2 separate regions of the Homo sapiens genome follow, and region 2 is linked to region 1. The links are contacts of gene promoters, found by promoter capture Hi-C in human tissues and cell types (Jung and others, 2019). All regions are on one chromosome and are shown on one strand. Each heading gives the region's core, a stretch centred on a gene start or on the middle of the fragment in contact. The rest is flanking DNA. Distances are from core to core; before and after follow the strand shown.

The links. The method cuts DNA at HindIII sites, captures the fragments that hold promoters and counts their contacts. A contact is called where the count stands out against the background at its distance.
Region 2: a contact is called between the fragment with the promoter of LGALS1 here and the fragment with the promoter of C22orf23 in region 1, in 1 of the 25 tissues and cell types used here (dorsolateral prefrontal cortex).

What each region holds. Positions count from the first base shown.
Region 1 is chr22:37,952,021-37,956,074 of GRCh38, reverse strand. C22orf23 (chromosome 22 open reading frame 23) reads left to right here and starts at 2,474. Exons shown (of 7, transcript NM_032561.5): 1 at 2,474-2,627; 2 at 2,917-3,028. The coding sequence starts at 2,926. POLR2F (RNA polymerase II, I and III subunit F) reads right to left here and starts at 2,376. Exons shown (of 5, transcript NM_021974.5): 1 at 2,268-2,376. The coding sequence starts at 2,287. RefSeq lists a silencer at 2,141-2,210. The HindIII fragment of the contact is 12,825 bases long and covers 1-4,054 here.
Region 2 is chr22:37,673,747-37,678,128 of GRCh38, reverse strand. LGALS1 (galectin 1) reads right to left here and starts at 2,493. Exons shown (of 4, transcript NM_002305.4): 1 at 2,418-2,493; 2 at 1,064-1,143. The coding sequence starts at 2,426. RefSeq lists an enhancer at 1-677 and silencers at 521-1,030, 2,551-2,690. The HindIII fragment of the contact is 16,498 bases long and covers 1-4,382 here.

The sequences.
Region 1 (4,054 bases), core at 1,225-3,724:
CAAACAAAAAAAAAATCAAAGAGGGCAGAGATCTGTGTCTCGCCCAGTATGTAGGAAGCACTCAATAAATATTTACTTAATAAGTAAATCAGCTGAGTGCAGTGGCTCACGTCTGTAATCCCAGCACTTTGAGAGGCCGAGGTGGGTGCATCACTTGAGGTCAGGAGTCCAAGACCAGCCTGGCCAACATGGAGAAATCTCGTCTCTGCTAAAAATACAAAAAAATTAGCCGGGTGTGGTGGTGGGCGCCTGTAATCCCAGCTACTCAGGAGGCTGAGGCACAAGAATTGCTTGAACCCGAGAGGCGGAGGGTGCACTGAGCCACGGTCACCCCACTGCACTCCAGCCTGGGTGACACAGCGAGACTCCTTCTCAAAAAATAAAAAATAATAATAAGAAGAAGAAGTAAATCCGACTTTTGTTCCATTTTACCCCTTCAATTTTTCCCCATCTGCCCCCAAATATTGCTAGTACTCATTCATCATCACTGTTTCCCTCTCTACTGGATCATTCCCATCAGCATTTTTTTTTTTTTTGAGACAAAGTCTCGCTCTGTTGTCCAGGATGGAGTGCAATGGCGTGATCTTGGCTCACTGCAACCTCTGCCTCCTGGGTTCAAGCAATTCTCCTGTCTCAGCCTCCCGAGTAGCTGGGATTATAGGCACACGCCACCATGCCCAGCTAATTTTTGTATTTTTAGTAAAGATGGGGTTTCACCATGTTGACCAGGCTGGTCTCGAACTCCTGGCCTCAGGTGATCCACCCTCCTCGGCCTCCCAAAGTGCTGGGATTAGAGGTGTAAGCCACAGCACCCGGCCCCATCAGCATTTCAACATGTGCTTTTCCTCATCTAAAAAAAAAAAAAAAAAAACCCTTATTTCTCTTCTCTCTCCCCCTATAGCCCTAATTCCATGGTGTCCTTTGAAGCAAAAATGTGTGAAAGAGCTGTCCACCCTCACTATCTTCCTCTCTTCCCATTTTGTCATAATCTCACTCCAAAAAGCCTTTCACCCCAACAGCTCCATCAAAACCACTTTCCAAGCTCATTAATGATCTCCACGTTGCTAAATCCAATGGCCAACTCTCCTTCTCATTTAGCCTGATCTATCAGCTGGCACATTAGGCCACTTGCTCTCCTCACTTGACTCCAAGGACACCTCACCCTCTTGGTGTTCCCCCACCTCCCCGGCTTCTCTTTTCCCCCAAGCACTCAATGTCCAAATGCCCTAATGCTCAGCCACGGGTCATCTCCTCTTCTCTACTGACACTCACTGGGAATGGGGTAGCAATCCCACACGTTTCTTATTTTTATCTTCAGACTAGCTCTCTTTGCACCCACATATCCCACAGGTAATTTTTGGGCTCTATCTTTAAAATAGTAATATATCCAGAATTCAAAACCAGTTCTCACCACCTCTACTCCTACCACCCTACTATAAGCTACTGACTTCTCTCATCTAGATTACTACAAGCAGGCCGGGCACGGTGGCTCACGCCTGTGATCCCAGCACTTTGGGAGGCCGAGGCGGGTGGATCACAAGCTCAGGAGTTCGAGGCCAGTCTGGCCAACATGGTGAAACCCGTCTCTACTAAAACTACAAGCAATTAGCAAGGCGTGGTGGTGCACGCCCATAATCCCAGCTAGTCGGGAGGCTGAGGCAGGAGAATCCCTTGAACCCCGGAGGTGGAGGCTGCAGTGAGCCGAGATCGCGCCACTGCACTCCAGCCTGGGCGACAGAGCAAGACTCTGTTTCAAAAAAAAAAAAAAATTACTGCAAAGGACCGTCCCAGACTTTTATTTAATGCCACCCGGTGGAGCTGCCCCAGACCCTCCTCTGGAGTACTCCTATACTACATACGTCTAGAACTGGGGAAGCTCACGCGACCACCGTTACCTGCTTGCTTGCTTACTTATGGGCCTGTGACCCCTTTTCTAGAAAGTGAGCACGTGGAGAGGCAGGGACGATTGTTCATTCACCTCAATATTCCCACTGCATGATACAGAGCCCGGCTCGCTGGAACATTTGCTGAAGGACACCTTTTCTACGGATCCCCTCTGGACCCTCGAGCCTGGGCCCTCCTGTGCCTCCAGCCGGGGCTGTGCTCCTGGGTCGCCCGCCCTTCCCTTCCTCGGCTCCGCCGGCCCCCTCAGGACCCCAGTCCCCTCAGACATTGCCCCTAGACGCCAGGCTCCTCAGCCGACCCAAGCCTTGCCTCATCCGCCCCTTCCAAGGTTGCCGCAAAGGCCACTCCGCTCCCGCACTCACTTGTCCTCGTTGTCTGACATGACACCCTCGCCTCAGCGACCCCGCTGCGCCCCGGTCCCGCGCGGAGACCCGCAAACAGCGACACTACGACTCGCGCGGCTCCTAGCTTATCTTGCGCCTGCGCCGTAACCCAGAGGAAATCACTTCCGGGAGGCAGGACAGAGCGGGGAAAGTGCGCATGCGCTGACTGGTGTGTGCGCGTTTCTATAGTAGCGAGAGGCGCTAGCTGCCAGCTCCAGCAGCCCAGATCGCGCAGTATTTCTGCGTGGCACCGGTGCGGATGCGGCTGTAAAGCAGTGGTCACCGCCTCCGGGAGCCCACTTCTATGTGGAGAGGGGAGCACCCAGAGAGGGTCTTAGGGTGAAATTTCAATTTTGGCATATCACTCAGTGGGTACTGTTGTGACCATGGCTGTGTTAACACTCCCTCCCGAGGAGACTTCCCTGCCACAGGCGCTGGGTCAGAATGAGGACTGTGTGTGTGTATCTGTGTGTCTGGATGGGAGGTTTGGGCACTGTCGCAATATTAACTGGCGGCATCATTCTCTGGCTCGATCCCCGCTTCCAGACTTCTGGGGGTGTTGGGCGTCGGGGAACAGAGATTAGGGACAGGAGACAGGGGGTGTGTCATTGCGTCTTTCCCTCCTCAGAGTCCTCCCATGGCTTCACAGAAGCAGATGGAGGTAGTGACCAAAGGAACTGGGTTCCGGCGCCGCCCCAAGACCATCACTTACACCCCGGGGACCTGCGAGCTGCTCAGAGGTCAGTCCGTTAAAGCAGCGATCCCAGCCTTTTTGGCACCAGGGACCGGTTTCGTGGAAGACAATTTTTCCACTGACGGAGGTGTGGGGAATGGTTTCGGGATGAAACTGTTCCACCTCAGATCATCAGGTATTAGTTAGATTCTCATAAGGAGCGTGCAACCTAGATCCCTCGCGTGCGCAGTTCACAATAGGGTTCGCGCTCCTATGAGAATCTAAGGCCGTCACTGACCTGAAAGGAGGCGGTGAGGCTCGCTAGCCTGCCGCTCACCTCCTGCTGTGCGGCCCGGTTCCTAACAGGCCAGGGACTGGTACCAGTCCACGGACGGAGGGTTGGGGACCCCTGAGTTAAAGGATGAGAGAAGAATGGTGGTAGTTACCCTCTGTAACTCAGTTCCCCCGTACCTGACCTGTGGCTTAGCACTATTTTCCTTTACAGATAAGGAGCCTGGGGTTCAGAAAGCTTCAAAATTCTACTGCATATGCCTTATTCGGGGGCGGGGCGGGGCGGGGGGGAGGGGAAGGTTCAAGGTGCTACACCTTGCCAAAAGTCAAAGAACTAAAATTTTTAGAGTAGTTAACTCCTATGCATCCTTTAGATCACACTTTCAACTTTCCCGAGGAAGACTTCTGCTCCTCACCACCACAGTAGGATCAACTGTTATGTGCCCTCACACATTTTCCTTCACTGGGCTTAGCACAAGCTGTAGTCAGTTATTTGGTGTCCCATCTATCCCTCCAGATCATGAATTTCATCAGGCAGGAACCGTGCCTGTTTCGGCCCACAATTGTAGCTCCAGCCCCTGAAACATGATGAACAAGTATTCATGTGTTCTTTTACTCAACAACTTTTTTGTTTTTTTCCAACAACAACATTTTTAAGTCTACCATGTGCCTTAGACTCTGTTTTAGGTGCTGGGGATACAGCAGTGAAAGAAAATGAGGTGGCTCAAACCGGTAATCCCAGCACTTTGGGAGGCCAAGGTGGGCAGATCACCTGAGGTTAGGAGTTCACGACCAGCCTGAC
Region 2 (4,382 bases), core at 1,244-3,743, 280 kb after region 1:
TTAGTAATTATGGGGCGAATTAACAAATAATAATAATAATACTCCCGGGCACGGTGGCTCATGCCTGTAACCCCAGCACTTTGGGAGGCCGAGGCGAGCGGGCAGATCATGAGGTCAGGAGTTCGAGACCAGCCTGGCCAACATGGTGAAACCCCGTCTCTACTAAAAGTACATAAATTAGCTGGGCGTTGTGGTGGGCCCCTGTAATCCCGGCTACTCAGGAGGCTGAAGCCGGAGAATCGTTTGAACCCGGGAGGCGGAGGTTGTGGTGAGCCGAGATCACGCCATTGCACTCCAGCCTGGGCGACAGGGTGAGACTGTGTCTCAAAAAATAAATAAATAAAATAATAAAATAATAAATAAATAAATAAAATAATAAATACATTTGTTGAGTGGTGATAATAGCAATACCTGCCTCTGAGGGTTTGGTTGAAATGAAATTAGTGCATGAGAAGTGTGCGGCTCTTAACAATATCAGCTGATCCTCATCCTCCTCACTGTCACTGCGCCAGCCGCATCTCACTTCCTCCACACAACCACCTCCCCCCTTGTTTTTCTAACAAACTGAGGCTAGGTGAGGTTGGTTGACTGGTCCAAGGTCACCTAACTGCCGAGAAAATAAGGCAGCCGTCTGAGTGAATGAGAAGTGAAGGAAGAAGGACCGGACTGAGCCAGTGAATGAATGAATGACCAGACGCAGGAAGGAGGGACTCAGGGGGAAGGCGGCGGTGACGCCCGCCCCACTCCTCTCCCCGCCCTCCCCAGCGACAGGTCCCGCCCAGACCGGAAAGGGGTGGGGGCGGGGGAGTCAAGGTATTACAGATGACGAGGCTGCAGCTGGTTTAGTTTAAGAGGCTACAGCAGGGAGGGAGCGGGGGAGGGGGCGGCAACGGTGGGGGCGCCCAGACCCTGCGGGGGAAGTGAGTCACCCAGAAAACGCAGCATCGGCGGCTGGCCGTTAACCCGCTCCCGGCCAGGGAGGAGATGTGGGCTTGGCCGGCCACGCCCTCCCTGCTGGACCAAGCCCGTCCCTGCCGCCCACCACCCCGACTTCACTTCTCACCTCTTAGCGTCAGGAGCCACCTCGCCTCGCACTCGAAGGCACTCTCCAGGTTTGAGATTCAGGTTGCTGGCGACCAGACCCTGCACAGACAAGCCCCGGCCCAGCCGGGTTAGAGGACAAGGCCTCCACTGCTCGAAGTGTCCGGGGGTGGCTGGGGGTGGGAGTGGGGTTGTTCCCGCCCGGCATCCTCTGACCAAGCCAAGGGGAAGCCTGGGGAAAGGATTGAGCTGTAATTTCCAGCCTCCGATTGTCTATGTGGTCCTGGGAAAGTCCCTATTCCCACCGGGGTTGGCTTCAGTCTGTAACGTGAAGGTTCTAGAAGACAGGCTCTAGAAGATTTTGCAGATTGGCTTGGGAATTTTGGACTCAAGAGTGACTTGGGAGATGGGGTGCTCTGTCCCATCGCAGATGGAGAGGATCAGGCTGGGGAGGGGCCGACACTTGGCCCACCGTCACACTGAATGGAGGGGCCGGCCCCTCTGCTGGAGAGGAAGTGGCTAGGGGCGGGCGACCCCACTATTCTCCTTCAAGCCCCTCTCTGCAAAGAGGCCCAGGGGCTAGAGAGGAGACCCTGAAAAACACGGCCTCTCTGCATTAGGGAGAATAGCCCTGCAGTCGGGCTGTGGCTGGGCTGGCTCAGGGTTAACAAGATTGAGCAAACTGCTGGGCACTGCTGTTCCCTGGCACCCCGAGTGGGTGGGCAAGAGTTAACTGGTTTGAGTGGTTTCTTCTGCCAGAAACTTGAACCCTTTCCCTGGGGCCCGAGGAAGATTCTCACCTCCCTGCCACCCCAACCTCCCAGCTTGGGGGTGGTGGAAGGGAATTTCCCCCGCCCCCCCCGCCACCAGCCTGGACACAACCACCCTCCACCCCCGACCTAGAAGGGCCCATCCTGGGCAGCTTGTCTCGGGTCCTGGCAACTTTTCAGCGTTCTCTGGAGCAGAGGGTAACTCTGCCCTGGCCTGGTGACCGGGACAGCTGCAGGGGGGAGGGGACAGGAGGCTCTTTGGGGTGGAGGAGGGGGAAAGGGATAGTGGCCTGGGTGTCCCCCAGTTGGCCACACCCTTCCCACGCTCACTTCTCAGAGAGCTGCAGAATGTCAACCCTGGGCAGAAATAACTGTGCTTTCAGACCCTGGAGGAATCCAGACAATTATCAATGCAGAGAAGGCCTTGAGGGACCATGGCGCCCACCCCCATTTTACAGATGTGGCCACTGAGGTCCAGAAAAGAGAAGGCACTGGTTCCAGGCCACACAGCTGGGGCTAGAATCTGCTCCCGATCTGCCCAGCTCTCCTCTGGCCATCAGTTCCTGCCCTATCCCCTGGACCTTGGGGGGGGGTCCCCACACTCACACAAGCCATGATTGAGTCCAGGAGGATGTTCCCGGGCAGGCGCACCAGCTGTCAGAAGACTCCACCCGAGAGAGATGGGCCCCCGGACGCTCCCACCCTTTTAACTGGACCGGACCGGGTGAGCCCCGCCCCCTGAAAGTTCAGCCAATTGCAAGTCAGGATAGGGCTGGGGGCCACTGGGGGCGGAGTCCGTGGAATTTTGAAGCCAGTTTTGGAGCAGAGGTGACCAATCAGAGTGGCGAGCTGCTGCCCCCCCTCACCCCGCCGCCCCCGGCCAGAGTCCAAGCTCCACCTCCTATTCTCCTTCATCCCTCTCCACCTCCCCACCAAAATTGTGCTGTGGCAGAGATTGGGGGAAGCCAGTGGAAAATAGTTTGATGATGAGCTAGGCCCACAAGTTGGCGGGAAGGGGCCTGTGGCCAGCAGGCTGGGCTCAGGGGGTGCCCAGAGAAGATGGCTGAGGAGGTGCAGGGTCCTTCAGGGAATCAGAGCTGGGGGAGACCAGGCCACTCCCGGGCAGGGACCAGGGCGTGGCTCCTGCTGCGTGCGCGTCTGCAGAGGGCCACTGACTTAACCACAGGCCCTGGCCCCACCCGGGCCTTCCCCGGAAGCAAGGACTGCGGCTGCTGCAGCGCTCTCTCGCTGGCTCCTCGGGAAGGCTAAAGAAAGGCTGGGCCGGGCGCCAAGCCTGAGGCTGCAGGGCTTGGCTAAGGCCTCGGGCTTGGCCGCGTTCAGGGGCAGGCAGGGGATAGTCAAAGCGCCCTGGCCTGACAGCCTCAGGCCTGAGAGTGTCAAGCTTAGGAGATGGCCCAGGGTGGTCCAGACCAGGAGGGGGTGGGGTCCTGGCTCTGTGCACCCTGTCCTTTCTCTTTTTTATTTTTATTTATTTATATATTTATTTTTGAGATGGAGTCTCGCTCTGTCGCCCAGGCTGGAGTGCAGTGGCGTGATCTCAGCTCACTGCAACCTCTGCCTCCCAGGTTCAACTGATTCTCCTGCCTCAGCCTCCCGAGTAGCTGGGACTACAGGCCCCCACCACCACACCCGGCTAATTTATGTACTTTTAGTAGAGACGGGGTTTCACCACGTTGGCCAGGCTGGTCTCAAACTCCTGACCTCAGTTGATCCACCCGCCTCAGCCTCCCAAAGTAATGGGATTACAGGTGTGAGCCACCATGCCTGGCCACCCTGTCTGCTCTCTTAACATCTCCTCTGAGGCCCGGCACAGCCCTCCCTTCCCTGAGTGTTCAGCAGGTATTTTACTGAGCACCTACTATGTACCTGGCCCTGGGCTCTGAGGATTCAAAGCTGAACCCCTCCCAGTCCCCACTCTCAAGGAGCGCATAGTTGGGGTGGAATCTGACCACAACCACGTTAAGAAGTAGATGATGGGCTGGGCGCAGTGGCTCACGCCGGTAATCCCAGCTCTTTAGGAAGCCGAGGCGGGCGGATCACCTAAGGTTAGGAGTTCGAGACTAGCCTGACCAACACGGAGAAACCCCATCTCTACTAAAAATACAAAATTAGCTGGGCATGGTGGCATATGCCTGTAATCCCTGCTACTCCTGAGGCTGAGGCAGGAGAATCGCTTGAACCCAGGAGGCAGAGGTTGCAGTGATCCGAGATCAGTCTATTGCACTCCAGCCTGGGCAATAAGAGTGAAACTCAGTCTCAATTAAAAAAAATAAAAAATAAAAATAAAAATAAAAAGAAGTAGATGATGATGGCTGTAAGGGAAGCCATGAGAAAGTGCTATGGTGGGCTGGCGGCTGCATGAGTAAAGGAGGTGGGTCGTGAAGGGTAGGCGGAGAAGTGCCTGGCTTTCCACCATGGGCAGAAGCTCCAGAATGAGAAGGCCAGGGCTGGAGAACAGTGTTCCGGGCATGTGGGGGAAAAACGGGGATGAGGCTGGGAAGCCAACAGGACCTGGACCATGGAGGGCCTCATGGGCTGGGCACAGGGCTT